7 separate regions of the Homo sapiens genome follow, and regions 2, 3, 4, 5, 6 and 7 are each linked to region 1. Evidence: promoter capture Hi-C in 16 types of primary human blood cells and fetal thymus (Javierre and others, 2016). All regions are on one chromosome and are shown on one strand. Each heading gives the region's core, a stretch centred on a gene start or on the middle of the fragment in contact. The rest is flanking DNA. Distances are from core to core; before and after follow the strand shown.

Region 1 (3,998 bases), core at 378-2,877:
CCTCAAAGAAGAGACAAGGTGTGGGGTGAGAGGCAGGAAGGAGGAAGGAGAGCCAGTTCGGGAAGTGCCAGCTGGGATGGGCAGTTTTATCACCTCACATCCGAGGCCCTGCTGGGAGAGAATGGGGGGCAAGAGCGTAGATAAAGCAGGGTGTGTGTGTGGTGGGGAACGGCAGCAGGCACCAGGGCTCGTCCTGGCACGATGAAGGAGGAACCCGTGGCTGGGCAGGTCTGGGATGTGGCAAGAGGCAGGAACTGGGGGCATGGAGGATGGGCGAGGGGGCGGTGGGGGCCCGGGCGAGGCTGCAAGAGCTCCCTGGCCTTGGAAAACCAACTCACACACCTTGATCTCAGGTCAGGGTCAGGCGGAAGGGCTGGGAAGGGGCCACAGGGGACTAAATCATCTCCTGGTACTGGGGGTCCCCTGGCAGCTTTAGGGACGGCATGGCCCCAGACGCGTGGCCATGCTGTCTGGCCGGCATTCCCGCATCTCATAGGGTGTATTTATTTTCACTTTTCTGTTGCATTTCTTGGAGGTGTCCCTGTGCTCATTTTGCCCGGCTCCCCACTGCTCCTTTCTGCCCTTCCTCATTCACAAATCGCCTGGCCTCAGAAGACGCCAGAACATGTGACACTGCCTTAGAGCCTCTAGAAGCACTTTTTGGGGACCTCCATCATTCTCTGAGGCTGGGCTCAAAGGGGCTTCCAAGGCAGGTCTGGAAGGGACCAGCCACTTCTCAGTTTCCCCAACCATCAATCAGCACCCGGAGGAGGAAACTGGGGTACGATTTCGCCAAGCCTCTCTCAGTCCTGCTTCAGAATGGAAATGCTGGACCGCCTTCCCAGAAGCACCTTCCCAGAGTGTCCCGACAGAACTGAGTCAGTCACCCCTACCCCCATGTCTTCCTAGCCCCTTCCCCAGCCTCACAGGTACAGTGGTCAGCAGGGCGAGTGCACTGGTGGTGTCTGGAGGCCTGACCCTCTGGGGCCCTGGGCAACGTGTTCCCCTCGGAGCCCCTTGGGGCCCAGTGGCAATGTGCAGATTGGAGGAGGCTACCTCTGGGGTGGCTTCCAGCGCCCATGTTCAGTTCCACTTTATGACCGTCTAAAGTCCACGCCGGCCCCGGCCCCTCCTCCTGGAGCCTCCTTCTCAGCCAAGCCCTAGCCCTCCTCCTCCCACTGCCCCCCTAAAGCCCCCCAACCAGGGGGCACAGGGGCCAGTCTCCATCTGCTAGTCCAGACTCGCTACCTCCCCAAACCCAGGTGAGTCAGGGCCGTCTGGGGCGCCCACTGCTGGGACCCCTGCTGACTCGGCCAGGGGCCCCCTCCTGGCGATGCCCATCTTCAGACAACTCCCGGGACAAGCCAGGCAGGAAAACCACAGGGCGTTTTGTCGAAGGCTTCATTATAATTTTATCAATCAAATTCTTAGAAGAGGGAAAAAGTCTGTTCTCCCCACCCTCCCCCCTCACTCGTCCCCCCCCTTCACTCTCACTTTCTTCCATTCATAATTTCCTATGATGCACCTCAAACAACTTCCTGGACTGGGGATCCCGGCTAAATATAGCTGTTTCTGTCTTACAACACAGGCTCCAGTATATAAATCAGGCAAATTCCCCATTTGAGCATGAACCTCTGAAAACTGCCGGCATCTGAGGTTTCCTCCAAGGCCCTCTGAAGTGCAGCCCATAATGAAGGTCTTGGCGGCAGGTAAATACACCCGCCCCGCGCCGGCTTCGCGTCCCCGCTGCGGGGCGCGGCGGCAACTTGGGGCGCTTGGCAGCGCGAGCCGGACGCCCACCCGCCGCAGACACACGAACACTTGGGGCGCCCGCGCAGCCACCGGAGGCGCTGGGTGGCGGCCCGGAGCGAGCGCGGGCACATGGTCCCAAGCACCGCACGCCCCGCGGCAGGTTGGCGGCGAGGGAGGGGGCGCCGAGCCTTCCTCCTCCTCCTCTTCTTCCCCCTCTCCTTCTCCTCCTCCTCCTCCTCGCTCCGGACACTCGCTGGCTGCTCTTCCCTCTGCGCTTTCTCCCAGATTCACTCTCCCTCTCTCTTTTTCTTTTCTTTCTTTCTTTCCGCTTTCTCCTTTCCAACCGCGGTCCCGGGCTGCTCCCAGGGAGGGGCGCGGGCGGCGAGCAGCTTGCAAACTCCGGCCTGGGACGGGAGCAGGTGCCGCCTCCATCTGCTGGTGTCTGGAAGCGTGTGGTCTGCGCTAGGTGAGATATAGGGGTGTGGCCCCCCTCCCGCAGCCACCCCGGGGCCTCAGCACTGCCTTGGGATGCTGGGACGAACAGGGGACCCAGGAGAAGTGAACTTGAGGAGGCCCCTGTCCCCGCTGTTCCAGCATGGGGGATCCGGGGGAGGTCTCCAGCCTCACTCGCCCGCTGACCCCGGCCCCCACCATCTTCAGGTGCCCTTCTGCAGAGCCCTGGAAAAGCGTCTAAGGGGGCCTGGGGGGAGTCGGGAGAACAGGCCCCCCTGGGGGAGGGGCAAACCAGGACATGTCGGGACAGCTCCCAGCTCTCCTGTCACCTTTCACTTTCCTTCCTCCCCGCCCACCCGACTGCCTATGACCTTTTGCCTTTTCTCTCTCCTGGTGCACCATTTCCTCTCCCTCCCTGAGCCGGTGTGTGTGTGTTAGGAGGGAGGGGAACCCCTGGGACAAGGGACAGCGGATGAGTCGGGAGAAGGCATGGAGTCAGGGGCTGTCCGGAGCTGGGGGAACAGAGAGTTTTGAATGATGATTTGGGGATGGAGAGTGGGGACAGCCAGGCAGAAATGGGGTGAGCTTGAGTGAGATAGGGGACACTAGGGAAGGAAGAGATAGAGGATGATGGGGGCGGGGGCAGAATTGGGGGCAATTGGCCCAGGGAGCCAGAATCAAGTGGCAGGTTTGGGAGGGAGATGAGGGTCAACCGAGGACTCCTCCCCACTCCCCCATGCCCCGTGGCCCCCATGGGTGCCTGGCTTCGGAGATTTGGGCTGCAATGGGCCAGTGAGTGGGAAGCGCTGCTGAGGAACCTGGGCCACCACGGGAGGTGGGAAGAGAGGGGTCTCCTTTCTCCTGGTGCCTGCTGGGCCTGGGGCCTGGTGCCTTCCAGCCAGAGGGCCAGGGGGCCTTAGGACCTTTGCCTTCCTGAGGGAAAGGGTGGGATGGCTGGGAGTCTCTCCTGGACCCTGCACCCTTTGGGTGGAAATGGCTTGTGTCTTGCCCTCATCTTTACGTCATCCCAGAAGAGAGCAGGGAGAACTAAGGTAGAGAAAGGGAGACAGAGAAACACACGCAGTGACAGAGTGAAGACTAGGCCCCAGGAAGACAGCTGCAGGTGGTGAGGGGGAACCAGGAGTCCTCTCCCATGCGGCCATTGTTGGACCCCCATCCGGTGTGCCATGACCCCAGGCCACCCTTTCCTGCCTTTCTACTCATGGCTTCTTCCTGACTGTCCCCAGGAGTTGTGCCCCTGCTGTTGGTTCTGCACTGGAAACATGGGGCGGGGAGCCCCCTCCCCATCACCCCTGTCAACGCCACCTGTGCCATACGCCACCCATGTCACAACAACCTCATGAACCAGATCAGGAGCCAACTGGCACAGCTCAATGGCAGTGCCAATGCCCTCTTTATTCTCTATGTAAGTTACCCCTGGGATACTGACAGGAGATGGCAGGGAGGGGGCTTGTAAATATCATTAGGGGCTGTCCTGATCTGGGTTGAGGGGACCTTTTGGGGCTGGAAGGAGAGAATGGGGAGAGGGCTTGATTAAACCACCCCCAGACTCCCGCCACTTCCTGCCCAAGCTTCCCCAGGGAAGCTTCCCCAGGGTGCCCAGTTAGCAAGGGGAGAACTGAGTGCAAAGGTGGGGACCTGGCACTTCTTATCTTGTGATTGTCCTGCTGCAGGGAGCGAGGGATGGAGGGGAAATGGGCGTGAGGCACCAGGGAGATGCGGTTGAGAGGCAGTGGGCTGTGGGTGCTGGGCATGGAGGGGCGTCCCGGAAC
Region 2 (3,998 bases), core at 584-3,083, 670 kb after region 1:
GGCCCCAGGATTTTCAGGCAGAGAAGTCAAAGGGGGATGAAAAGGGGAAAGGAGATGGTGGAGATAAAGTGTCTGCAGCTGACAGCCTTGCCCCTGTCTTCACTTGTAAGGAAGTTTGTTTCTTTGATGGTGATAAACCTGGCATGTGAATGCCTTTCCCCAGAGAATGCACCACAGAGGAGCACGTAACGTTGTATACAATTTCAGGGGGCTTACTGATGCAACCCCTTTGCAGAAATTTTAACAGTGAGAAAATTATGACAGTGAAAGTGATCTGACCTAACCGACTCCATTTTGCTTCTAACCCCCAAACTGTCCATATTCATTCCTGGGCATAGGCCAAACTTACAGTCTTTTTGTTTGTTTTTTGAGACGGAGTTTCGCTCTTGTTGCCCAGGCTGGAGTGCAGTGGCGCGATCTCGGCTCACTGCAACCTCTGCCTCCAGGGTTCAAGAGATTCTCCTGCCTCAGCCTCCCGAGTAACTGGGATTACAGGTGCCCGCCACCATGCCTGGCTAATTTTTTTGTATTTTTAGTAGAGACGGGGTTTCACCCTGTTGGCCAGGCTGGTCTTGAACTCTTGACCTAAACTTCTGATCCACCTTTGCCTCCCAAAATGCTGGGATTACAGGCATGAGCCACCATGCCCGGCAGCAAATTTATAGTTCAACTTTGAAACAAAGATAACAGCCCTCTCCCAAAATAAACCCCTTTCTTGCCTGGGGACCAGACTGCTTTTGTAAGACTAACAAATTAGCCACGAGATTAGAAATTACGGTTTAGGAGTCATGCAGGTAGTGGCCACAGATTCTAAACCTCCCCAGTTGCTCCTAGGGATAACATCACTACTGTAAAACCTAAGATTGGTGCTCAAGATATTTTTCCGATCCTGCACTCAATGGATCCGCTGGCGATACACAGATTAAGAAACCGGATCATCCGGTTTTGTGGCCCCCACCCAGAGATCCACTCAGCACAAGAGGACGGCTTCCACTCCCTATGATTGCATCTCCGACCTGACCAATCAGCACTCTCCACTCTCTGGCCCCTACCCACCAAATTATCCTTAATAAAACCCAGTCTCCGAATTTTCAGGGAGACTGATTTGAGTAATAATAAAACTCCGGTCTCCCATTCAGCCGGCTCTGCATGAATTAAACTCTTATTGCAATTCCTCTGTCTTGATAAATCCGCTGTCTGGGAAACGGGCAAAATGAACCCATGGGGTGGTTACACTGACCCTCTGCTGCACATCCCGGACAGCCTTGTTAAGAACCCTTGGTAGGCTGGGCATGGTGGCTCACGCCTGTAATCCCAGCACTTTGGGAGCACGAGGCAGGCAGATCACGAGGTCAGGAGATCGAGACCATCCTGGCTAACACGGTGAAACCCCGTTTCTACTAAAAATACAAAAAATTAGCTGGGCGTGGTGGCAGACGCCTGTAGTTCCAGCTACTCGGGAGGCTGAGGCAGGAGAATGGCGTGAACCCAGGAGGCGGAGCTTGCAGTGGGCCGAGATCGCGCCACTGCGCTCCAGCCTGGGCGACAGAGCGAGACTCCGTCTCAAAAAAAAAAAAAAAAAAAAAAAGAACCCTTGGTATTATTGTTCCACGCTCCCATTTTACCGAGGTGGATCCTGAGGCCCAGAGTGGGCAAAGGGCTTGCCAAGGTCGCAGAGCGCGCAGAGGATTAGAACCCTGACTTCCGTCCAGCACCTGCGGAGTTGGAGACGCCCACAGGAAACGCCCACCTGACCGGGTGAGTGAGGGGGCGGGCGAGCCGGAGGGGTGGAGTTTATTCGCGCCCCGCCTCCGCCACCAGGGCTTGGGGGCGGGGCCTTCCTGCAACCTTTGCGGCTCCAACATGGCTCCGCGGCTGTGCAGCATCTCTGTGACGGCGCGGCGGCTGCTGGGGGGCCCGGGGCCTCGCGCTGGGGACGTTGCGTCTGCAGCTGCGGCGCGGTGAGAGCCCGGCCAGGCAGGGATAGACGCGCGCGGGGTGGGGTGCAGGCGCGGGGGCCAGGGACTGGGTCGTGGGGGAGGGGCTGAGACTCCTCGCTTGGAATCTGGGGGTTAGAGGCGGGGCAGGATCAAGGCCTAGGGAGGGGTCTGGGCAAAGAATGGGGGAGGTGAGAAAGGGATGGGTAGGGTCTTTGTCCTGGTTGGGACCGGGCTGTGATGGGGACCTGATGAAAGATGGTGAGAAGGGCAGGTACTGGGCCCTGGAGAGTGGGAGAGGGCAGAAGACAGGAGGAGTGGCCCATTCCCAGGCGTAGCTTGTGATTTAACACCCACTGGGGGCTTCTGGTAGTCAGCTCCTCCGTCGGGAAGTTCTGTGGGAAAGAGATGATGGCAGGGGAGCAGTGGGGGATCCCCAGGGGCCATGGCTGCACAGACCCTTTGTTCCTCCACCTCGAACTGTACAGGTGGGGAAACGGACCTGAGAGGGAATGGGAGTTGTCCAAGGTCACCCTCCCTGCTGTGCCGTGGCAGCACCAGGTCTGGGACCCAGGCCTGCCAATGCGCCATGCACTTTGCACCCAACTGGTGGCCTCCTGGGAGTGGGAGTCTGGCTGGGCCATGTGCTCTCAGCCTGGGCTTTTGTTTGGGCCCTGCTCTGGGCTGAGCTAGGGCTTGGCCTCCCTGACTGGCCCTGGGCAGCCCCTCACTCCTTGGTCCCCACAGCCCTGTACTTCCCCCATCTCTGCATATATGACCCTGCACAGTTATGACTTGGTGCTTGTCTGTCTCTCTCACTAGACCATGATCTCATTTTTCTCTGTTTCCCCAGCCTCCCACCCTCAGAGGGCTCAGGACTGTGTATGGTCAAGGAATATTTACCAAAGAAGTGAGGCCACCTGTTCCCCCTCCCCCAACCTGTGAAAAGGAAGCAACCATCCCTCCTGCCCTGCAGCCCAGGAATGAAGCTGCAAAGTTCTGATAGTGCCTGCCATGAGATGTTACAGCACAGAGCAGTGGGGCTTTTGGACAGCTGGGAAAGAGGAGTGGCATAAGCGCCCCACCTAGACTGCCCAATAATTAGGGATAAAGCTGACACCGTGGGAAAAGCCTAGAGTTTGCCTGGCACTAACAGATCTAACTCAGACTTTGTAGGTGGGGTGACCTCAGGACTCTTTAAGCCTCGGGTTCCTCATCTGTAAAATGGGAGTAATCAGGATGTATCTCATAGGGTTGTTGAGGATTAAAGATGCTGTGGTTGGTCGGGTATGGTGGCTCATGCCTGTAATCCCAGCACTTTGGGAGGCCGAGGCAGGCAGATCACTTGAGGTCAGCAGTTCAAGACCAGCTTGGCAACACGGCGAGATCCTGTCTCTATAAAAAGTACAAAAATGGCCGGGCGCGGTGGCTCACGCCTGTAATCCCAGCACTTTGGGAGGCCGAGGCGGTGGATCACGAGGTCAGGAGATCGAGACCATCCTGGCTAACACGGTGAAACCCCATCTCTACTAAAAATACAAAAAATTAGCTGGGCGCGGTGGCAGGCGCCTGTAGTCCCAGCTACTCAGGAGGCTGAGGCAGGAGAATGGCGTGAACCCAGGAGGCGGAGCTTGCAGTGAGCCGAGATCCTGCCACTGCACTCCAGCCTGGGCGACAAGAGTGAGACTCTGTCTCAAAAAAAAAAAAAAAAAAAAAAAAGTACAAAAATTTCACCATGTTGGTGAAAACGTGTCTCTACTAAAAATACAATTAGCTGGGTGTGATGGCTCACCCCTGTAATCCCAGCTACTAGGAAGCTGAGGCAGGAGAATCAATTGAACCCGGGAGACAGAGGTTGCAGTGAGCCGAGATCACGCTACTGCACTCCAACCCGGGTGACAGAGCGAGACTCCGTCTACAAAAAAAAAAGATTCCGTGGTTGTGAAGTGTCTAGCACTTGACGAACATGCAGTAAGTGTTGCTCCTTAACCCCTAGCCTATGTTTCAAGCAATTTCTGCATGTGACCCACATAATGTTGAGGCTCAAAGGGCTCTGGGAAG
Region 3 (3,998 bases), core at 769-3,268, 630 kb after region 1:
TACCCCAAACCCCAAACGTTCCAAATCATTTTGCATGCCAACCACTTTAAATCACACTTCTAGTAAAAACTTCAAAGCTCTTCATCGCATCTGATGAATACAAGCCTCTTTAACCTGGGCTTCATGAGCCTCCAATATCTAGCTTGAAGCTACCAATTCACACACATCTCTAGCTGGGCATGTTGGCTCATGCCTGTAATCCCAGCACTTTGAGAGGCTGAGGCGGAAGGATCGCTTGAGCCCAGAAGTTCCAGACCAGCCTAGGCAACATAGCGGGATCCCATTTCTTCAAAAAAATTAGCCAGGTATTGGTGGCATGTGCCTGTAGTCCCAGCTACTTGGGAGGCTTAGGCAGGAGAATCACTTGAGCCCAGCAGGTCAAGTCTGTAGTGAGCTGTGATAGCACCACTGCACTCCAGTCTGAGTGAGACCCCATCTCGAAAAAAAAAAAAAAAAAAAAAAGGCCGGGCACGGTGGTTCACGCCTGTAATCCCAGCACTTTGGGAGGCCGAGGCAGGCTGATCACAAGGTCAGGAGATCGAGACCGTCCTGGCCAACATGGTGAAACTTCGTCTCTACTAAAAATACAAAAATTAGCCATGTGTGGTGGTGCACACCCATAATCCCAGCTACTCAGGAGGCTGAGGCAAGAGAATTGCTTGAACCCGGGAGGTGGAGGTTGCAGTGAGCAGAGATCACGCCACTGCACTCCAGCCTGGGCGACAGAGCGAGTCTCTGTCTCAAAAAAAAAAAAAAAAAAAAAAAAAAATACAGGGTCTTCCAAAACTGAACTGTCAGTGAGAGGGAAGCGGATTGTAAAAGTCAAAGAAACAATGTCGTCTGAACAGTTAACTAACTTTTCAAAATCCATACATGAAAGAGTCTCAGAATAAAGATGTTACCAATTGCTATCTAGGTGGGCATACCAAATATTATAAGACACCAGGCTGAATACAGGCAGGAGCATTCTGACTATGTTAAATATGCAACTAGACAATGCTTAACTGTTATAACATAAGCCTCATTTTAAGCCAAAGGTAAGGAATTCTCATTATATCATGAGCAAGTGAAAATGATTCACTTACAGAAAATGTCCACTTGATTCAAAATGACAAACTAGACACTGAGGTAATGTAGCACGGATCGTTAGTCATGTCATTCATCCGGCAAAAATGTAAGCCACTGGCAAGTTTACAAAATGCTTTTGAGATAGTATCATACACCAAATGCAATAAAATAATGCCATAGGCAAATAGTTGTTAAGTTGAGGAAGTCCTTCAAATGATCTCTTCTTTCCACTTTCTTTTTCCTGTTTACCAAATACCTAAGTTCTCTCCAGGTTTCTAACTTTTTCTCTCCTACTTCTCTTTTACGCTTCCTATTTGGGTAGCATAGGGTAGTGGAAAGAGGGCTGGCCTGAAAGACAGATGACCTGGCTTCAAATCTCAGTCCCATCACTTAGAAGCTATGTGGTGACTTTGGACACAAAGAAGAGGAAACCCTTGAGCAGAGCCTAGAAGGAGAATGAGTTCAGTTCTGCCAAGCAACAAATGAGAATGGCATTCCAGGCAAAGAGAACAGCCTATGCAAAGATGTGGCAGTGTGAAGGAGGGACCAGGATAATAGGCTCAGAGCAAGAGGGTGCGTGAGGAAGTGGAGGAGAGGCTGAGAAAGGGAGCAAGCTAACGACAGGCACTGAACTTATTTCCTTTTTATTTTTTTAATTTATTTTATTTATTTATTTTTTGAGACAAGGTCTCACTCTGTCACCCAGGCTGGAGTGCAGTGGTGCAATCAGGAAGCTTATGGCAACCTCGACCTCCCAGGCTCATGTGATCCTCCCACCTCAGCCTCCCGAGATGCTAGGACCACAGGTGCACACCACCACAACCGGCTAATTTTTGTATTTTTTGTAGAGATAGGGTTTCGCCATGTTGCCCAGGCTGTTATTTCTTTAGGTAACAACCATTATATATAGCACTTATCTTGTGTTAGGTACTATTCTACGTACTTTACCAGTAATTACTCAAATTTAATTCTTGTAACACTATGCAGGAAGAATTAATTACATTCACCATTTTACAGTTAGGGAACAGAGGCATGTGAGGGGGTTAAGGAGCTTTAAGGTTGCAAAGCTGGTTAGAGGCAGAGCCAGGAATCAAACTCTGAAGTCTATGCTTGTAATCTCTAGGCTATGCTGCCTCAGCGGCCCCAACAAGGAAACTGAAGCTTGAGTTAAGATTTGCTCAACTTACATGTCAGCCTCAATGTGAGGTTCAAATAAGCAACTGCAGGCTTTACTGGTCGATATTAAGTTAAAGGGTGTGCCCATCTATTCTCCCTATTCTCTCACTACCTACCTGTCCCTGTCCTATTCTGCCTCTTTCAGAATAGATAGTGGCTGCACTAAGCCTTTAAGCATGCTATGTATCCTGTCTGAGCCTCTGTTTCCCCACTTAAAGATGAAGTCAGTTACAGAACCTAGGTCCAAAGTAGTCCTTGATCACTGCTAGGAGGTGTTCCCTGCCTGGTCAACGTGGGCACCCAGTAAATCAGAGCTGCGTGTGGTGGTTCACACCTATAATCCTAGCACTTTGGGAGGCTGAGGCAGGAGGATCCCTTGAGCACAGGAGTTTGAGACCAGCCTGAGCAACCAACGTAGGGAGACCCCCATCTCTATTTTTTTTTTTGGAGTCGGAGTCTCTCCCTGTCATCCAGGCTGGAGTGCAGTGGCTCAATCTCAGGCAACCTCCACCTCAGGCAATTATCCTGCCTCAGCCTCCCAAGTAGCTGGAATTACAGGCACATGCCATTGCCCCCGGCTAATTTTTCTATTTTTAGTAGAGACGAGTTTTTCCCATGTTGGCCAGGCTGGTCTTGAACTCCTGACCTCAGGGATCCACCTGCCTCAGCCTCCCAAAGTGCTGGGATTACAGGAATGAGCCACCATGCCCGGCCAACCCTGTCTCTATTATTTAAAAAACAAATAAATAAAAGAGACAGAGTCTCACTCTGTCACCCAGGCTTCATGCAGTGGTACGAACATAGCTCACTGCAGCCTCGAACTCCTGGGCTCAAGTGATCCTCTTGTCTCAGCCTACCAAGTAGTTAGGACTACAGGTGCGCACAACCACGCCTAATTATTGTCTTTTTTTTGAGACAGAGTCTCGCTCTTGTCGCCCAGGCTGGAGTGCAGTGACGCGATCTCAGCTCACTGCAACCCTCACCTCCCAGGTTCAAGCAATTCTCCTGCCTCAACCTCCGGAGTAGCTGGGACTACAGGCGCCCACTACCACGCCTGGCTAATTTTTGTGTTTTCAGTAGAGACAGGATTTCACCATGTGCCCAAACTGGTCTCGAACTCCTGGCCTCAAGTGATCTGGCCACCCCGGCCTCCCACTGGGATTACAGGTGTCAGCCACTGTGCCTAGCCTATTTTATAATATCTCTTGAATGAATAAATGAGTCCCTGTTATATCAAATGAGGTAGTGTGCATTTAAAGCATTTAGCATGGTACCTAGCACAAAGTAACTGCTAGTCCCTAGCCCTTTGTCCCACACAAAGGCAGAATGGGGTCCAGTGGAGGGCAGCACTAGCCAGCATCTGTTTCTTCGCACCCCTTCATCAGCACGCACGCACTCATCACTCACCCCTGCCTGTCCTAGACCTGAGTAGTGGCACCCATGCCATCCATAGGCACTACTTAAAACCCATGGGAGAGGTCGGGCACGGTGGCTCATGCCTGTAATCCCAGCACTTTGGGAGGCCGAGCCAGGCAGATCATGAGGTCAGGAGTTCAAGACCAGCCTGACCAACATGGTAAGACCCCATCTCTACTAAAAATACAAAAATTAGCCTGGCATGATGGCAGGCACCTGTAATTCCAGCTACTCAGGAGGTTGAGGCAGGAGAATTGCTTGAACCCAGGAGACAGAGGTTGAAGTGAGCTGAGATCACGCCACTGCACTCCAGCCTGGGCAACAGAGCGAGACTCCAT
Region 4 (3,998 bases), core at 1,093-3,592, 600 kb after region 1:
TAAGGGAAATGGCTTCATGAACACCTTTAATTAAAAAGAAAAATAAGTGAAAAGATTATGTTTTAAAATCACACAAGTGCCCTCTCCCTCTCCCTCTCCCCATGGTCTCCCTCTCCCCATGGTCTCCCTCTCCCTCTCTTTCCACGGTCTCCCTCTCATGCCGAGCCAAAGCTGGACTATACTGCTGCCATCTCGGCTCACTGCAACCTCCCTGCCTGATTCTCCTGCCTCAGCCTGCCGAGTGCCTGCAATTGCAGGCGCGCGCCACCACGCCTGACGGGTTTTCGTATTTTTTTGGTGGAGACGGGGTTTCGCTGTGTTGGCCGGGCCGGTCTCCAGCTCCTAACCGCGAGTGATCCGCCAGCCTCGGCCTCCCGAGGTGCCGGGATTGCAGACGGAGTCTCGTTCACTCAGTGCTCAATGGTGCCCAGGCTGGAGTGCAGTGGCGTGATCTCGGCTCGCTACAACCTCCACCTCCCAGCCGCCTGCCTTGGCCTCCCAAAGTGCCGAGATTGCAGCCTCTGCCCGGCCGCCACCCCGTCTGGGAAGTGAGGAGCGTCTCTGCCTGGCCGCCCATCGTCTGGGATGTGAGGAGCCCCTCTGCCTGGCTGCCCAGTCTGGAAAGTGAGGAGCGTCTCTGCCCAGCCGCCATCCCATCTGGGAAGTGAGGAGCGCCTCTTCCCGGCCGCCATCACATCTAGGAAGTGAGGAGCGTCTCTGCCCGGCCGCCCATCGTCTGGGATGTGGGGAGCGCCTCTGCCCCGCCGCCCCGTCTGGGATGTGAGGAGCGCCTCTGCCCGGCCGCCACCCCGTCTGGGAGGTGAGGAGCATCTCTGCCCGGCCGCCCCGTCTGAGAAGTGAGGAGACCCTCTGCCTGGCAACCGCCCCGTCTGTGAAGTGAGGAGCTCCTCCGCCAGGCAGCCGCCCCATATGAGAAGTGAGGAGCCCCTCCGCCCGGCAGCCACCCCGTCTGGGAAGTGAGGAGCGTCTCCGCCCGGCAGCCACCCCGTCCGGGAGGGAGGTGGGGGGGTCAGCCCCCCGGCCAGGCCAGCCGCCCCGTCCGGGAGGGAGGTGGGGGGGTCAGCCCCCCGCCAGGCCAGCCGCCCCGTCCGGGAGGGAGGTTGGGGGGTCAGCCCCCCGCCCGGCCAGCCGCCCCATCCGGGAGGTGAGGGGCGCCTCTGCCCGGCCGCCCCTACTGGGAAGTAAGGAGCCCCTCTGCCCGGCCACCACCCCGTCTGGGAGGTGTGCCCAACAGCTCATTGAGAACGGGCCAGGATGACAATGGCGGCTTTGTGGAATAGAAAGGGGGGAAAGGTGGGGAAAAGATTGAGAAATCGGATGGTTGCCGTGTCTGTGTAGAAAGAAGTAGACACGGGAGACTTTTCATTTTGTTCTGTACTAAGAAAAATTCTTCTGCCTTGGGATCCTGTTGATCTGTGACCTTACCCCCAACCCTGTGCTCTCTGAAACATGTGCTATGTCCACTCAGGGTTAAATGGATTAAGGGCGGTGCAAGATGTGCTTTGTTAAACAGATGCTTGAAGGCAGCATGCTCATTAAGAGTCATCACCACTCCCTAATCTCAAGTACCCAGGGACACAAACGCTGCGGAAGTCCGCAGGGTCCTCTGCCTAGGAAAACCAGAGACCTTTGTTCACTTGTTTATCTGCTGACCTTCCCTCCACTATTGTCCTATGACCCTGCCAAAGCCCCCTCTGTGAGAAACACCCAAGAATGATCAATAAAAAAAAAAAAAAAAATCACACAAGTAAGACCAGGCATGGTGACTCAGACCTGTAATCCCAGCACTTTGGGAGGCCAAGGTGGAAGGATCACTTGAGCTCAGGAGTTCAAGACCAGCCTGGACAACATAGTGAGACCCCATCTCTATAAAAATACAAATAAAACATAAATAAAATAAAATCACACAAGTAATCAAGGAGCCCCAATTCTGGGGACAACATCTTGTGCTCTGGTGAAAGGCAGGGATCAGGGGAACCAAGAGAAGGTGATATATGACTGAAGTGAAAAATCTGAGGGACATGAAACTCCGTGGCTAACCCTCTCATCGGTCTTGTAAAAAAAAAAAAAAGGTCTATAGTGATTTAACGGAAGTGAACGATTTTCAGCTAACCAGACAGCTCAAGTGGGCTTGGTGGGCCACAGCACCTGCAGTGCTTAGCCACATGAACAGCTAGCATGTCAATCAGGGGCAGATGAAGCAGGGCATTCTCTGAAGGTGTAGTGTAGTGTCCACACACAAGGCAGCTTGTTTGCAAATGAGTTTGGAGTGAGGACCTGGGCCTTTCTGACCTAAAGGCCATGTTTGGCTAAAATTGGAGACCATAAATTCATTTTTCCTGGCTAATAGAAAGGTTGTACCACATGGTTGAGTTTATGGTTTAAAAAAAAAAAAGAAAAAAGGTTTTTCCAGTAAATGTCATAAACCACATGTACATAATGAGATTACACAGGAAATTCATCTTTCTGAATGAATTCACTTAGAATGAATTCTAATTCATTAGAACGATACTTATAATTTCTGCACACCACACACACACATACACACACACACACATACACACACAAGATTATACAAACACTGGAACAGTGACAGTGGTTCTTCAAGTCCACAAGTCCCATAACATCTCACTTTCTGGGGCAAGTCTCTCTGAAGTACAGAAAACCCAAAGAAAGAGAAGATAGGAGTGATCCCATGACCCAAATTAACGCCCAGGAAAAATACATTTTTCTTCTTTGAGCCTACCTTGGCCTGGACGGCGTAAGAAGCCAGGAGCACAGAAGCCTCAGGAGGGCAGTAGATCTTTTCATCTAAAATCTGCTTCTTTACCTGAAAGGAGCAACAAGGGAGACATGATACTCTGTGAGTGGAAGTGAGGTGTGTAGGCTGATCACAACAGATGGCCTCACGGCGTTCTAATGAGGGCTGCCAGAGCAGCCTGTTAATAATTTTCTGACAAAGGGTACAATTTTTTTTTTACTGATGCAGACAGGTGGAGAGTTCAGTCACAGAAGTTACTGGTATGACGGCTATGCATAAAAACCCCTTATCTCTTCTCTTCATGATCAATGCTGAAGAGTAAAAACGGTCTCTGTAGTTACAACAGAGGCTGTGTGACAGAGCGCTATGAACTCAAGAAGTGTCAAGAGCAGCTCTGGGGATGACTACAGCCTCAGCCCCTTTGAATATGCATGGCCCCAGAGGAAATGGATCTACTTTTAAGTATTAACACAAGACAAAAGTCACCAAGGCCACTGAGTTATGATTGCAGAAAAAACCATCACTCTCAACGTGCTGCTCTAAGGGAAAAGGAAGCAATAAAATTTGATCGATTCAACTTTTAAGTACACGTGAGGTCCAGGAAATATAATTCTTAAGCCATAATGTTGAATTAACATATTTCATTGCACTTAATTTTCTTAGAATGGTGCAACTTGGGATGTTCCAGACACAGAAGCAAGACAACTGCATGACGTGGCAGGGGGACACTGAAATAAACACAGCAGGAAAGCCAGCTCTCCTCTCACAGATGTCAACAGTCACCGGATTCATAAAAGCAGTAAATTTTGCCTTGCTCAGTCATAAAAATGCCTTAACATTTCAGTATGGGGAAAATCAAGTCAGTCACACAAGAGACAGGCAGTGCTTCCAAGTACTTACAAGAAAGCCATTTCTATAACATTAGGACATTCTGGGACCTAGGAGATTGTTAGGTGTTTACGTTCAAACACAAAAATTCTTCTTAGGTTTTAAAAGTGATTTTACATTCTTAGAGAGAAAATGAAACCTGAGATGTTTCTCAAGCAGTGCAACTTTCTAATCCCTTGGTTTCATTTCCAAAGAGAGGGGGGAAAAAGCAACGCTATAGAAAAACTGCAAGAACATCCCTTTTCTTTTGAGAAGGAGTTTCACTCTGGTTGCCCAGGCTGGAGTGCAATGGCGCAATCTCGGCTCACTGCAACCTCCACCTCCCGGG
Region 5 (3,998 bases), core at 1-2,500, 580 kb after region 1:
AAAAGGTATAAAACAAGAGCAGGTATGTCCACGGCCAAAAGACTCCTGCCAGCCCATGACCACTCCTCGCCTCCCAGGCCAGGACTGACCACACAGTGACATCATCAGTTAAAACAAGGTTGTGCTCACCTGCTTTCTAGCCTTCTCCTCCCTGGCCTGGGCTTTCATCTGCTGAACTTCCAAAGAATCGGCTTTCCTTCTCCTCATAAATAGATCATGGTTCCCGATACATAGCTGGAGAATCTGTGGCCACAGAAGCAGACAAAAAGGTTAATATCCACAAATTTACTTCACTGCCTACTGGCCCACTAGTGCCATAGCAGTTTGAGCTCTTGCAGGTAGCAGTAAACGTGAAGATGAATGCATAGAGTGAAACACCAAAGCCCTACTAGTGGCCTCTAGTGCCGTCAGCTCTGGAAACATGCAAAATGAAGGCGCCTCAGATATGCCAGGAGGTAAAAATCATAAATCAAGAGAGGACTGGAGGACACTTCACCATGTCTTCTGGGTGCACCTTACTCTCCTACATCAAGATGTGGTTCTGCAGACCAGGGAGGATAGGAAAGCTCGTTCAGTAAGCTGGGCTGAGGCAACAGGTTATGCATGTGGAAAAAAATAAGTTGTATCCCTCCCTTACACCTTACACAAAAATCAACTCCAGAAGGATTAAATACTTAAATGCAAAGATTAAGCCCTTGAAACTTTTAGAAGACAATATAGAAGAATATCTTTATGATCATAGGATAAGAGAAGATGCCAAGTAAGACACAAAAAGTGATTAAGGAAAAAATGTATATATTTGTCTACATTAAAATTAAAAATTCTTATTGTCAAGACATAAAAAAAGAAAAAGAGCAACAAACTGGAAGATATAGCCAATAAAGAAAACAGGCTAGGTGCAGTAGCTCACACCTGTAATCCCAGCACTTTCGGAGGCCAAGGTGAGAGGATCCTTGAGCCCAGGAGTTCAAGACCAGCCTGGGTGACATAGTGAGACGCCATCTCCACAAAAAACTCAAAACATTTGGCCAGACCTGGTGGCTCAGCACTTTGGGAAGTGTAATCCTAGCACTTTGGGAAGGGGAGGCAGGCAGATTGCTTGAGCCCAGGAGTTTAAGACAAGCCTGGACAACATGGCAAAACTTTGTCTCTATAAAAAAAATACAAAAAATTAGCTGGGCATGGTGGTGTGTGTCTGTAGTCCCAGCTACTGGGGAGGGTGAGGTGGGAGGATCACTGAGCCTGGGCAGGTCCATGCTGCAGTGAGACATGATCGTGTCATTACATTTCAGCCTGGGCAACAGAGTGAGACCCTATCTCAAAATCTCAAAAAAAAAAAGTTCATTTGATAATGAGATACCATTTTAGATGCACAAGATTGGCAAAAATTTTAAAAGGCTGATAATACAAGTATTAAGGATAGCAAAAAACAAACTTCACCCACTACTGTTGGGTCTGTAAAAATCGATTCACCTTCTTTAGAAAACAATGTGTCATAATTTTGAAATTTAAACATATACCAAGCCCTGTACTTCTACTCCTGTGTATATACTCTAAGCTCTATTTTTGATTTATTTTTATGTATTTATTTTTTTTTTGGAGACGAAGTTTTACTCTTGTTGCCCAGGCTGGAGTGCAATGGCATGATCTCGGCTCACTGCAACCTCCACCTCCTGGGTTCAAGCGATCTCCTGCCTCAGCCTCCTAAGTAGCTGGGATTTATAGGCATGCGCCACCACGCCCAGCTAATTTTGTATTTTTAGTAGAGACAGGATTTCTCCATGTTGGTCAGGCTGGTCTTGAACTCCTGACCTCAGGTGATCCGCCTGCCTCAGCCTCCCAAAGTGCTGGGATTACAGGAGTTGAGCCACTGTGCCTGGCCCTCTTTTTTATTATTTAAAAATTTTATTTATTTTCATTTTTTTGGAGACAGGGTCTTGCTATGTTGCCCAGGTTGGTCTCGAACTCCTGGCCTCAAACAGTTATCCTGCCTTGACCTCTCCAAGTGCTGAGATTACAGGCGTGAGCCACCCCACCTAGCCCAGTATACTCAAGACTCCAAAGAAACTATTGCCTATGTGCACCAGGAGGCAGATACAAAAGTTTTCATAACAGCCTGTTAAAACAGTATAGAAGTGGCTGGGTGCAGTGGCTCACGCCTGTAATCCCAGCACTTTGGGAGGCCAAGGTGGGCAGATCACAAGGTCAGGAGTTCGAGACCAGCCTGACCAACATGGTGAAACACCATCTCTACTAAAAATACAAAAATTAGCCGGGCGTGGTAGTGGCCGCCTGTAATCCCAGCTACTCAGGAGGCTGAGGCAGGAGAATTGCTTAAATCCGGGAGGCGGAGGTTGCAGTGAGCCGAGATTGTGCCTGGGCAACAGAGTGAGACCCCATTTCAAAAAAAAAAGTATAGAAGTAAAAAGCACTTAATTATCCATTAACAGAAGAATCAGAAAAATATATAACAGAGTGCTACAGAGGTGAGAATGAACAGACTATCTTTAAGCATCAACAAAGATATATCTCAAAAAAATAATGAAAAAGGAAAAGGAAAATGACAAAAGAATATATATACTTGACAGCATTTAGATAAATTTCATAAACATATGACATTGAATGGTATTTTTCTTTTGCCATATATGAAATAAAATTCTGTTGAAAAGCAAGAGGATGATGAATACTCAACTCAAAACAGTGATCACCCTTGGGGAGAGGGAAAGGAGAGACCAGCAGGGTGTTAACATGAAGGGTCTCAACAGTATTGGGACTGTGCTATTTCTTTTTTCCTTTTTCTTTTTCTTTTTTTTTTTTTTTCCTGACCTTGTGATCCACCCGTCTCGGCCACCCAAAGTGCTGGGATTACAGGCGTAAGCCACCGCACCCGGCCAGGACTGTGCTATTTCTTAAAGTGGGGTTGTGGGTACACAGCTATTCACTTTTGTTATTCTTTATAATTCATATGTTACACTTATCCTTTTATATGTATGAAATACTGCATTAAAAATCCTTTTTAAAAATTCCTCATCGGCTGGGCGCAGTGGGTCATGACTGTAATCCCAGCACTTTGGGAAGCCCAGGCGGATGGGTCACCTGAGGTCAGGAGTTCGAGACCAGCCTTACCAATATGGTGAAACCCCGTCTCTACTGAAAATACAAAAATTAGCTGGGCATGGTGTCTCATGCCTGTAATCCCAGCTACTTGGGAGGCTGAGCCAGGAGAATCTCTTGAATCTGGGAGGCGGACGTTGCAGTGAGCCGAGATGGCACTGCCACTGCACTCCAGCCTGGGCGACAGAGCGAGACTCTGTCTCAAAAAAAAAACAAAAAAAAAAACTTCTTCATGATATAATTTAGTTTTAACTCTTTAAGCTAAACAGAAAGTATGCGCCAAGTGAGATACCATTCTATACTTCACAAGATGTCACTCTGATATCCTTTAAAAAGAAGTATTCAATTCTCAGAAAAGCTACCATTATCAGTAATGAAAACCAGGATCTCAACTTACCAGCTTATTAACACGAAGCTTTGAGGAGTTAAACTTGAAGACATCAATTTTCTTATCCAGTGGTTTAATAGTAAACTGGAAGAATGAAGCAGAACACAGTTTCAGTCCGACAGCCTGGAATGTTACCAGCAATTGGAAATTCCACAAATGCGCAACCACACTGGCCACAGACCAGCATGAAGTTATGCCTTGTCCTGGCTTCCCAGTATCCAGGCACTAAACCTCAGGGAATTAGGAGCACCAAGTCTCGGGCTGTGGAAGCTCAGGACCCTAAAGGTACGCTCTCTAGACCATCTTAGGCATGAGTGTGGGAAGGGATTCTTGACAACCTAAAATAAGCATCCTTAATGGGCCCAACCCTGAGGCCAACACTGGAGGGCTACTGTAGTCGAGGGCATGGGCCCACCTTCATGAAGCTCACCATCTAGTTGGAACTAGGCTAACAACAGCCAATTACTCAAGAAATCACATCAAATATTAGTGCTTC
Region 6 (3,998 bases), core at 400-2,899, 560 kb after region 1:
GGGGAACAAAACTAATCAGAGCACCAGGATTCCTTCAACTAGTCTCTGGGGGCCTTGCCTCAATCCACTCATCCCAGGGGAGGAGAAAAGAAGGTAGGAGGGGACCATCTCATTCATTTTAAACAATAAGACTCACAGTACTGAACCCATTTTAGATACTAACCTAATAACTCCAGGCGCTGGGTCTCTGCTTGTCCCATAAAAATGCAGTGGAATTGAAATGTGAGCCCTAAAATCATGTTACACTTCCTCTCCACTACTACATATTGAAAACGAAGGAGCGGGGGAGGGTGTAGACACAAAAGGACGTGCAGATCCTCTGGCACCGGATCCACAGGGAGAAAGCAGACTCAGAGCAGAAAGGTGACAGCTGAATCCAGCAGCAGCAAATTCCAAAAGAATCTTTGGTTTGGGGTGTGGGAAACCTTCCCCCTTCCAAATAAGCAAAGAGGAAGGGCCAGTAAAGGGGGATGGCTGTACTAAGTGGCCAGATCAAGCTTTTCTTTACTTTCTCTTTTTTTTTTTTTTTTTTTTTTTGAGACGGAGTCTCACTCCGTTGCCAGGCTGAACTGCAGTGGCGCGATCTCCGCTCACTGCAGCCTCTGCCTCCTGGGTTTAAGTGATTCTCCTGCCTCAGCCTCCTGAGTAGCTGGAACTACAGGCGCATGCCACCACGCCCAGCTAATTTTTGTATTTTTAGTAGAGACAGGGTTTCACCATGTTGGCCAGGATGGTCTCAATCTCTTGACTTCGTGATCCGCCTGCCTCGGCCTCCCAAAGTGCTGGGATTACAGGCATAAGCCACCGCGTCCGGCCCAGATCAAGCTTTTCTGCAGTCTGGCTAGGGACAGCTGCACCCAAATGCCATATGGTGATGTGCACAGTGGGAGCACTATCCACACACTTATCCTACACAGAGGTGGAACGAAAGGCCAAGTCCACCCCAATGAACAAATCCAATTTGTTATTAGCGACTTTATCTGCTCTCAAGAGAAATCTGCCACTGAATACCCAAGGGGCCCTTTTTGTGTATTAATCCCTGAGGGACCCAAAGCAGCAAAAGCTGCCTGAAAACCTGTCTACCTGCTTTGCAGGCTGCCCTGTGGCACTGGCCGGCGGGGCCCTCCGCTGCTCCTCTGTTCCTTCCCCTGACAAATGGCCTAATGGGCCTGATTCACCTCACTGGGCAGGTGGCGGCTATCTACTGAGTGGTCTGAGCAAGAGCCTTAGGAAAAAGGTCCAGATAGACTGATGTCATTTTAAAATTGCCAACATCAAAAGAGAAATCACAGCAAGGATCATGAGAACAGAACCTCGGGCTCGCAGAACGAGTTTGCATCTGGCTCTTCCCTCCCACTGTTGCAGCAACGAATCCGGTGCCGAGGAGAGCTGCACTGAAACACATCTTCAGTGCCGAGGGGCCGAACAGGGTGTTTTACTGCCTCAAATAAGGCCTGGTAATATCCTCAGGCATCTCCAAATGGTGGTAAAGTACCTAGGCAGGCAAGGCAGGTTTGTAGGCTCTTCAACACCTCCCAAAGAACAACTGCTTGACCAGGTAAAGTCTCTTAACCAAAAACAGGATTGGCTTGTTGACTTTTAGAAGAGGCCGATACAGTCTTCTATCTAGAGCTACCAGAAACAAGCAAGAAAACTAAGCTCTCAACAGTTACGAGACACCAGGAACTCAGTGTGTGAGAGTGGTAGGAGTGGCCTTCAGGGATGAGCCCAAGGTGTCCCATCCGGGAGGAGCACTAAGAGCAGCCTGCAGTTCCTAATGCCTTCCCTGGGCTTCCACAGAGCCAGGAGGCGGAGAGGAAGAGTTCAGATCGCCACTGCAATTTCTTCCCAGTGTGCTATGCCCACATCTGGTGCTGCTACTGCTCCCTGTTAATCCTTGCTCCCCACCCCACTCCCCACTCCTTTTTCTTTCCTTCCCCCTCTCACCCCTGCCTTGCTCTAGCAGGGAAGGTTCAGGGCTGGGGAGCCAGTATGCTACCTTTTATGTCAAGGCCAAGATGCTCTACCATACAACGCCCAGTTCCTAAAGCAAGCAGAGCCATTCAGCCCACTGGGGTCATAAGGAGGGTTGGCTATATTAACTACCTATTAAACTTAAGTAATTTAGGAGCCATCTTCAGGGCTGGCAATGCAGACCAGAGGTCGCCAGGGAGGCTCTGGCCACTTGTTTTAATTGTGGGAGACACCTTTCCCGCATATGCAATCTCTCTCTGTGATTTATCACTTCCCCGGGTGTTTTTTTAACTGTTCTACTTCACTTCACTGGCTCTGCAACTCCAAGGGGAGCCTGCACAAATTGAAGATGACATTGGACTTTTATGTCTTCCTGATCCAAGAGAAGCTGCTGGCGCTTGAGATAAATGTCAAGGCTCCTCTTCTTCCTGTTCCTCCATCAGTGGAAACCACAGCTGGACCTTGACGGTTCAAACCATTTACTAATGAAATAAGCTTTCTAAGCTCCACCACCCCCATGATTTCTCATCCGTCAATTTCCTTGGAAATCCTGTGCTCCTTGGGAGACCACAGGCACAAAAGTGATGACTTTGTTTGCTGGCACTCAGACCAGCTCAGGATCGGGAGACTGAAACCCCTCTCTTGAGAAGCGATGAAAGAAAGACCCTGAATGTATATATTCCAGGACTGCATTCTACCATCAAGGTATGGTGGTACAGTTACGCCACACCAAGCCACCACTCCCATCATTGGCACTGTGGCTCTGAAGGCACGAAAGCCAGGCTCAAGGCACCCTGTGTCCCTCAACCCCAGCCTGATGGCCAGACTCACTCCCCTCACTCGGAAGGCTCAGATGCCAGGACACGTGTCGCTCCCACTGAGAATGAAACAATTCCAGGTTCCCCAGGGCGGCTTTTGATCGCTAGCACTGCTCTGACTCAGATGCAAATGGCAAACTAGTTGTACTGATCATCAATTGGGAAAAATGGAAATACAGGAAGTTAAGATTAGCAAGAGGAGAAAAATACATCCTTGCAAACCCAAGTGAAATATTACAAGGAAACAGTGAAGTTAATTATGGCTATTTATTTATTTATTTATGAGATGGAATCTTGCTCTTGTTGCCCAGGCTGGAGTGCAATGGCACGATCTTGGCTCACTGCAACCCCCACCTCCCAGGTTCAAGCAATTCTCCTGCCTCAGCCTCCCAAGTAGCTGGGTTTACAGGCATGCGCCACCACACCTGGCAAATTTTGTATTTTTGGTAGAGACGGGGTTTCTCCATGTTGGTCAGGCTGGTCTCGAACTCCTGACCTCAGGTGATTCACCTGCCTCGGCCTCCCAACGTGCTGGGATTATAGGCATGAGCCACTGTGCCCGGCCAATTATGGCTTTTTAAAAGTTTTTACTTTCAGCCACGTAGCAATTAATACAATGAATGAATATGCCCAGCACAAGCAGTGTACCTAGATGTGGCGGTGTGGCCCACATGCCGTCCTTCGCCCTTTGCTGCAGGATCACAAGCAGATTTTCCCTTTTCAGAGTTTTAACCCCTTACTGAGCTCTGACTGTGCACTGAGTGTTGCACACACATTCTCTCATTTATTCCTCACAACACTCCTGGGGGCAAAGACTATTTTTATCCACCTTTTGCAGGTGAGGACACTGTGCCTCAAGAGAGAGTAAGAATTCATCCTTTTTTATAGCTGCATGTATACATATGTAACAAACCTGCACGTTGTGCACATGTACCCTAGAACTTAAAGTATAATAAAAAAAAAAAAAGAGAGAGCGAGCGAGTAAGAATTATAGAGAAAGGAAGTGGCAGAGAAGTAGGAACCTCGGTTAATCAGACTGGATGGCCGCTCAGCATTCCTCAGGGAATGCGGTAACCCCTGGTAACCTAAGGGCAAACTCCTTGAATCAGCTTCAATGTTACACAGCCCCCATGGGTACTGCTGAAACCACACAGCAGACTCTGAGACCTCTCAGTGAGGCAGAAGAGTACTGAAAACGAGGACAAA
Region 7 (3,998 bases), core at 697-3,196, 530 kb after region 1:
CCCTCCTTTCCCCGGGCTCTGGAGGAGGCTCTGGCCCTGGGTTTTAGGGGTGAATGGTGAGGTCATGTCGGGGGGCCCCAATCATCCATCTGTCCTGTCCGCATCAGACCCCAGACCCTGTCTCCACAGCTCTCCCCGCTTCTGAGGGTTTGCAGGGGCAGTTGGTGAGGAGCCTGGTGGCTCATGCCTATGGTGCAGTGAGCGAGGCAGAGGCTGCCTTCTCTCTCTGGATCTTCCCCCGACCCATTCTGACTCCTCTAAGATCTGCCCTCACCCTGGGCCTGGGTTGAGGGAGGACCTCCCTCCATGGCTTCCCCTGGGCTCCCACCATCCTCCCTGACTGTGCTGGTCTTGGCTGCACCCTCCCAGGCCCTAATGAGCCTCCAGATCTCAGAGACCCCTGGATCCAAGGTACCCCGAGAGGCCCATCCTCTGGGTGAGCTCAGCCCCTTGCAACAGCAGACATGCAGATCCCAGGAGGCCGTGACCCCCATCAGCCCAGATCCCCCACTCCACTCCATATGGGGGCTCCAGGAGGTCTGGGGGGAGGGGAAACCTCAGCACCTCCCCCAGCCCAGCAGGGAAGGAGCTGGGCGGGCCCCAGGGGTCTCACTGCTCCTCAGGACACACTGTCCCGGACCCCTGCCCCTGCCCTCTGCTCTGACCTCGCCCAGCCAGCGGCCTGCCATCCCCCTGCGAGTCTGAGAGGCAGGGGGAACGGGGTGGGGGCGGGTTTGGGTCCTGGCCTCTCTGCCTTTCCCTTCCAGGCTTGGCTATCGCGACTTAGCCGCCCAGTCCGGCCACTTGTTGTCGCCACCGCCTCCCGGGCCGCCTTCCCGGCGCGCCGGGCTGGGGGTCCCCGCAGGGCTGCAGGGAAGGGGCTACGGCCGCAGGTGGGGACGGGGGCGGCCCCGCAGCGGGCAAGAGCAGGGCAGTCGCCCTCTCCCCTTCTGCTGCTGCCCGAGCAGATTGAATTTTTAAAGCGACACGAGCGGAATGTCAATGCGAGCAGAGAGCCGCGGGCGGGCGCCGCGGAGGGGATCAGGATGCGGGTGCTCCGGCCGGGCCGGCGCTGGGGGCTCAGCGCGGACCCCCGCCCCAGTCCGCCGCGTTGCCGCACCGTCACCGCCGACTGCGCGGCCCCGTGACCCCGCTGCGGGGCCCGGCAAGTTTCCGCAGCGCTGGGGACCACGCGGGCAGGGGCTGGGCCGCTCTCCGCCTGAGCGACCCCCACCGCGGCGCCCCGGGGTGCGGACAGGTCTTGCCGCGGGGCACAGCTGCTAGCTGGGGCGCCCACCTGGCAACCGGCACCTGCGGACCGCCCCCCGCCCCCCGCCCCCGCGCCCCTGGCCCGCGCTTCACCTGGGCGCACAGGTAGGAGGGCCGCCGGGGCGGGGATCCCGGCGGACACTCACCCTCCAGCTCGTCCTCCGGGATGTCCACCGGGCGCTGCTCCGACAGCAGGTTGGGCACGGTGTAGATGCCCCGGTACATCAACGCCGCCGTCACCGGGTGGAACGGCATCTTGGAGGCTCCGCGCCCGCCCGCCCGCCGCAAACTTTGAGGCCGGGGCTCATGGGCCGGTGGCGGCCCCGGGGGCGGCTGGAGCGGGCGGGGCGCGCGGCTGCGGAGGGCGGCGGCGGCAGCGGCGAGGCTGGGGACGCCCCTCCGGGGGCCTAGCGCCCCCGCGCCCCGGGCCGCCGGGCCATGCCGCCCGCTCCCTCGTCGGGCTCCCAGCCGGGGCCCCGCAGGGGCAGCGGGGGCGGCGCCGCTCTGGCCTTTCCGAGAGCTCCGGCTGCCTCGCGCGGTGCCCGCCGCGCCCGCTCCTCGGTGCCCCGCGCGCTCCGCGCTGCTCGCCGCCCGCTAGTCCGCTCGCCGGCGCGGCCGCTACCGGCCCGGCGCTCAGGCTGTAGCCGCCTCTCCGCTCGCTCGCTCGCTCGTTCTGTGCCGCGCTGGCTGCGCTCCCCGCCTCCCCCGCCAGCCGCCCGCCCGCCCCCTCCGCGCTCCCCACCCCCAGCCCGCCCCTTCCCGCCGCCGGCCCCTGAGCGGCCGCCCCAAACCTGCCCGGGGCTCCTTCTCCCCTTCGGCCCCGATTCCCCTTTCCCACTAGGGCTCCCCTCTGTTCACTGGCTCTCCTCACCCTAAGTCTGCAGCCACCAGGACCAGGGAGGGGGTGGGTTGCGGGGGTCCTCCTTCCTGCCCCTTGGCTCACCTTCCCCCATCCACGCACCAGGAGCGGAGAGCCCGGAACTAAGAACTGTAGACCCAGAGAGGTGAGACTGGCCCCAAGCACCTGGGTCCTCAAGAAGAGTCACCGTTTCCGTGCCAGGAGGATCCAAGGTGGGGAAACTGAGGCTGAGAGAGAAGGACGTTGACCAAGGTCACAGGGCAGGAGCAGCAGGTAAGAGCTGGGTACACGTCTGGGGTAGGCTTCCTGCCCTGCCTGTGACTGACACCCTGCCGCTGACCTTGCTCCCCACAATGGGGCCCCAGTCCCGGACCCTTCCCAAGCCCCTACCTTTCAGCTTGCAGAAGAGGAGCCAAAGTGTCTCATGGCCCCCAGGGCAGTTCGGGACAGAGACATGGCCCGGTGCCTGTGGGGTCTGGTGTGAGGGCCTGCCAGTTCACATGGCTGCAGCTCAGACCTAATGTATGTGCAGGGCTTCCCCAGGCCCCAGGGCACGTCGGCACCCCAGAGCTGGGGTGGGGGCAGGTGTTTGAGGGAGCAGCCTGCGTGTGCATATGTCTGCTATCCATGAGGGTGTGTATGTGCCACTGGGCACGTGCGCAGGTGTCTGTGACTCCATATGCAGATGGACAAATGTCGGGAGTGTGTGGCCACCTGTGTGTGCCAAGGTTGTACGCTGGCAGGTCGGGGGAGGTGTGCAGGCCCTGGGGCTGGGAGTGGTGTGGGCATATGGTGCACAGATGTGCATGGGAGGGGGTGACCTTCTGGCCTGGCTGTGGCCCCATCTCTGGGTGCTTCCCTGAATCCCCCTACTGGGACCACCTCCCTGCCCCCTTTGGCCCAATCAGCTAAAGGTCCCAGCAGGAACGCTGATTGCACAGCCCTGCCCGGTCCTGCCCTGCCCTTCCCAAGCTGATTACACTTTTCTGCTTGTTTCTGTTTTTGTTACTGATTAATCGCAGCCTTGTCTCAGGGTCTGGGGAGAAGGGGCTCAGTGAGAGATGCTAGCCCCAGCCAAGCGGGGTTGGGTCAGCCTGGGCCCAGCACTTCCTGGGCCCTGCTCTGGAGGGAGCTCCTAGAAACATCTATAACCTGCGGAGGAGCCAGGAAGGACACCAGCTGTCTGTCTGTCTCCCCAGACCTCTCCGGGCTAGCTGGTTGCCCACTGGGACCTGGGCCTGGAGGTGAGAGAGGCCCCAGAAAAGCTCCCACCCCACTCCAAAGCTCTCCTTGCCCACCTGTCCCATCTTCTGACCTTCCACCGCTAGAGCTGAATGCCTTGAGCTTCCCCAGTGTTTTTGATGGAGCAGAGACTTGAGGAAGTAAGAACCCAGCACCAAGAGCCAGGCAGACTGGGGCTTCTGCATCCACCATCTCCTCACCATGGAACTACAGTCAGGTCCCTTAACCGGCCATAGCCTCAGTTTCCCTGCCTGTTAAGGTGGCAGTGCCACATCCCAGGCAGCGGTGAGGATGAAGTGACATAATGTAGGAAAGGTGCCGGGCATCACCTCCCTGAAACTCTTGGGAGTTTCCTATTAGCATGAACATCCCCCCCAAGGAATAGGAATTAATAATAATTATAGCTTCGAGTATTGATTGAGAGAGCGAGCCGCAGCAGCAGCTCAGTCGTTCCACGTTTACTAAGTGTCCAGGCTGTGCCAGCCCAGGCCTGTCAGTTCTAAATCAGAACCCCTGGGCCAAGGGAGAGTGGGCTAGAGCCTGCTGAGAGGCTGGCAGGAAACCCAGCTCCCAGTGACTCCCTGGGAGGCCGCTGCAGAGCGTGTTGGTACTCGCCCTGTGAAGGGGA

The links. Contacts are between HindIII fragments. The CHiCAGO score rates a contact against its expected background, and 5 or more counts as called.
Region 2: the fragment with the promoter of NIPSNAP1 here is called in contact with the fragment with the promoter of LIF in region 1 in 1 of 17 cell types (neutrophils); the score reaches 5.9 in neutrophils.
Region 3: a contact is called between a fragment that was not itself captured here and the fragment with the promoter of LIF in region 1, in 1 of 17 cell types (M0 macrophages). The highest score is 5.5, in M0 macrophages.
Region 4: a fragment that was not itself captured here is called in contact with the fragment with the promoter of LIF in region 1 in 1 of 17 cell types (M2 macrophages); the score reaches 6.1 in M2 macrophages.
Region 5: a fragment that was not itself captured here is called in contact with the fragment with the promoter of LIF in region 1 in 1 of 17 cell types (M2 macrophages); the score reaches 5.5 in M2 macrophages.
Region 6: a fragment that was not itself captured here is called in contact with the fragment with the promoter of LIF in region 1 in 6 of 17 cell types (M2 macrophages, M0 macrophages, M1 macrophages and 3 more); the score reaches 10.2 in M2 macrophages.
Region 7: a contact is called between the fragment with the promoter of CABP7 here and the fragment with the promoter of LIF in region 1, in 6 of 17 cell types (M1 macrophages, M0 macrophages, erythroblasts and 3 more). The highest score is 12.1, in M1 macrophages.

The regions. Positions count from the first base shown.
Region 1 is chr22:30,244,388-30,248,385 of GRCh38, reverse strand. It overlaps LIF (LIF interleukin 6 family cytokine), which reads left to right and starts at 1,627. Exons shown (of 3, transcript NM_002309.5): 1 at 1,627-1,709; 2 at 3,453-3,631. The coding sequence starts at 1,691. It overlaps LIF-AS2 (LIF antisense RNA 2), which reads right to left and starts at 2,176. Exons shown (of 1, transcript NR_148946.1): 1 at 1,393-2,176. RefSeq lists an enhancer at 3,177-3,677. The HindIII fragment of the contact is 10,846 bases long and covers 1-3,799 here.
Region 2 is chr22:29,578,948-29,582,945 of GRCh38, reverse strand. NIPSNAP1 (nipsnap homolog 1) reads left to right here and starts at 1,833. Exons shown (of 10, transcript NM_003634.4): 1 at 1,833-1,961. The coding sequence starts at 1,864. RefSeq lists a silencer at 2,027-2,076 and an enhancer at 2,060-2,672. The HindIII fragment of the contact is 18,053 bases long and covers 1-3,998 here.
Region 3 is chr22:29,619,418-29,623,415 of GRCh38, reverse strand. All of the region lies in intron 1 of NF2 (NF2, moesin-ezrin-radixin like (MERLIN) tumor suppressor), which reads right to left. Among named protein-coding and RNA genes, the nearest start is that of NF2, 18 kb to the right of the region's middle. The HindIII fragment of the contact is 427 bases long and covers 1,805-2,231 here.
Region 4 is chr22:29,641,055-29,645,052 of GRCh38, reverse strand. It overlaps NF2 (NF2, moesin-ezrin-radixin like (MERLIN) tumor suppressor), which reads right to left. Exons shown (of 16, transcript NM_000268.4): 4 at 2,768-2,851. Among named protein-coding and RNA genes, the nearest start is that of NF2, 39 kb to the right of the region's middle. The HindIII fragment of the contact is 9,111 bases long and covers 1-3,998 here.
Region 5 is chr22:29,664,578-29,668,575 of GRCh38, reverse strand. NF2 (NF2, moesin-ezrin-radixin like (MERLIN) tumor suppressor) reads right to left here. Exons shown (of 16, transcript NM_000268.4): 9 at 3,512-3,586; 10 at 130-243. Among named protein-coding and RNA genes, the nearest start is that of CABP7-DT, 53 kb to the left of the region's middle. The HindIII fragment of the contact is 4,563 bases long and covers 1-3,531 here.
Region 6 is chr22:29,685,717-29,689,714 of GRCh38, reverse strand. All of the region lies in intron 15 of NF2 (NF2, moesin-ezrin-radixin like (MERLIN) tumor suppressor), which reads right to left. Among named protein-coding and RNA genes, the nearest start is that of CABP7-DT, 32 kb to the left of the region's middle. RefSeq lists enhancers at 1-270, 490-989, 990-1,491. The HindIII fragment of the contact is 1,644 bases long and covers 828-2,471 here.
Region 7 is chr22:29,717,951-29,721,948 of GRCh38, reverse strand. It overlaps CABP7 (calcium binding protein 7), which reads right to left and starts at 1,946. Exons shown (of 5, transcript NM_182527.3): 1 at 1,416-1,946. The coding sequence starts at 1,524. CABP7-DT (CABP7 divergent transcript) reads left to right here and starts at 2,046. Exons shown (of 3, transcript NR_186695.1): 1 at 2,046-2,401. RefSeq lists an enhancer at 1-637. The HindIII fragment of the contact is 23,163 bases long and covers 1-3,998 here.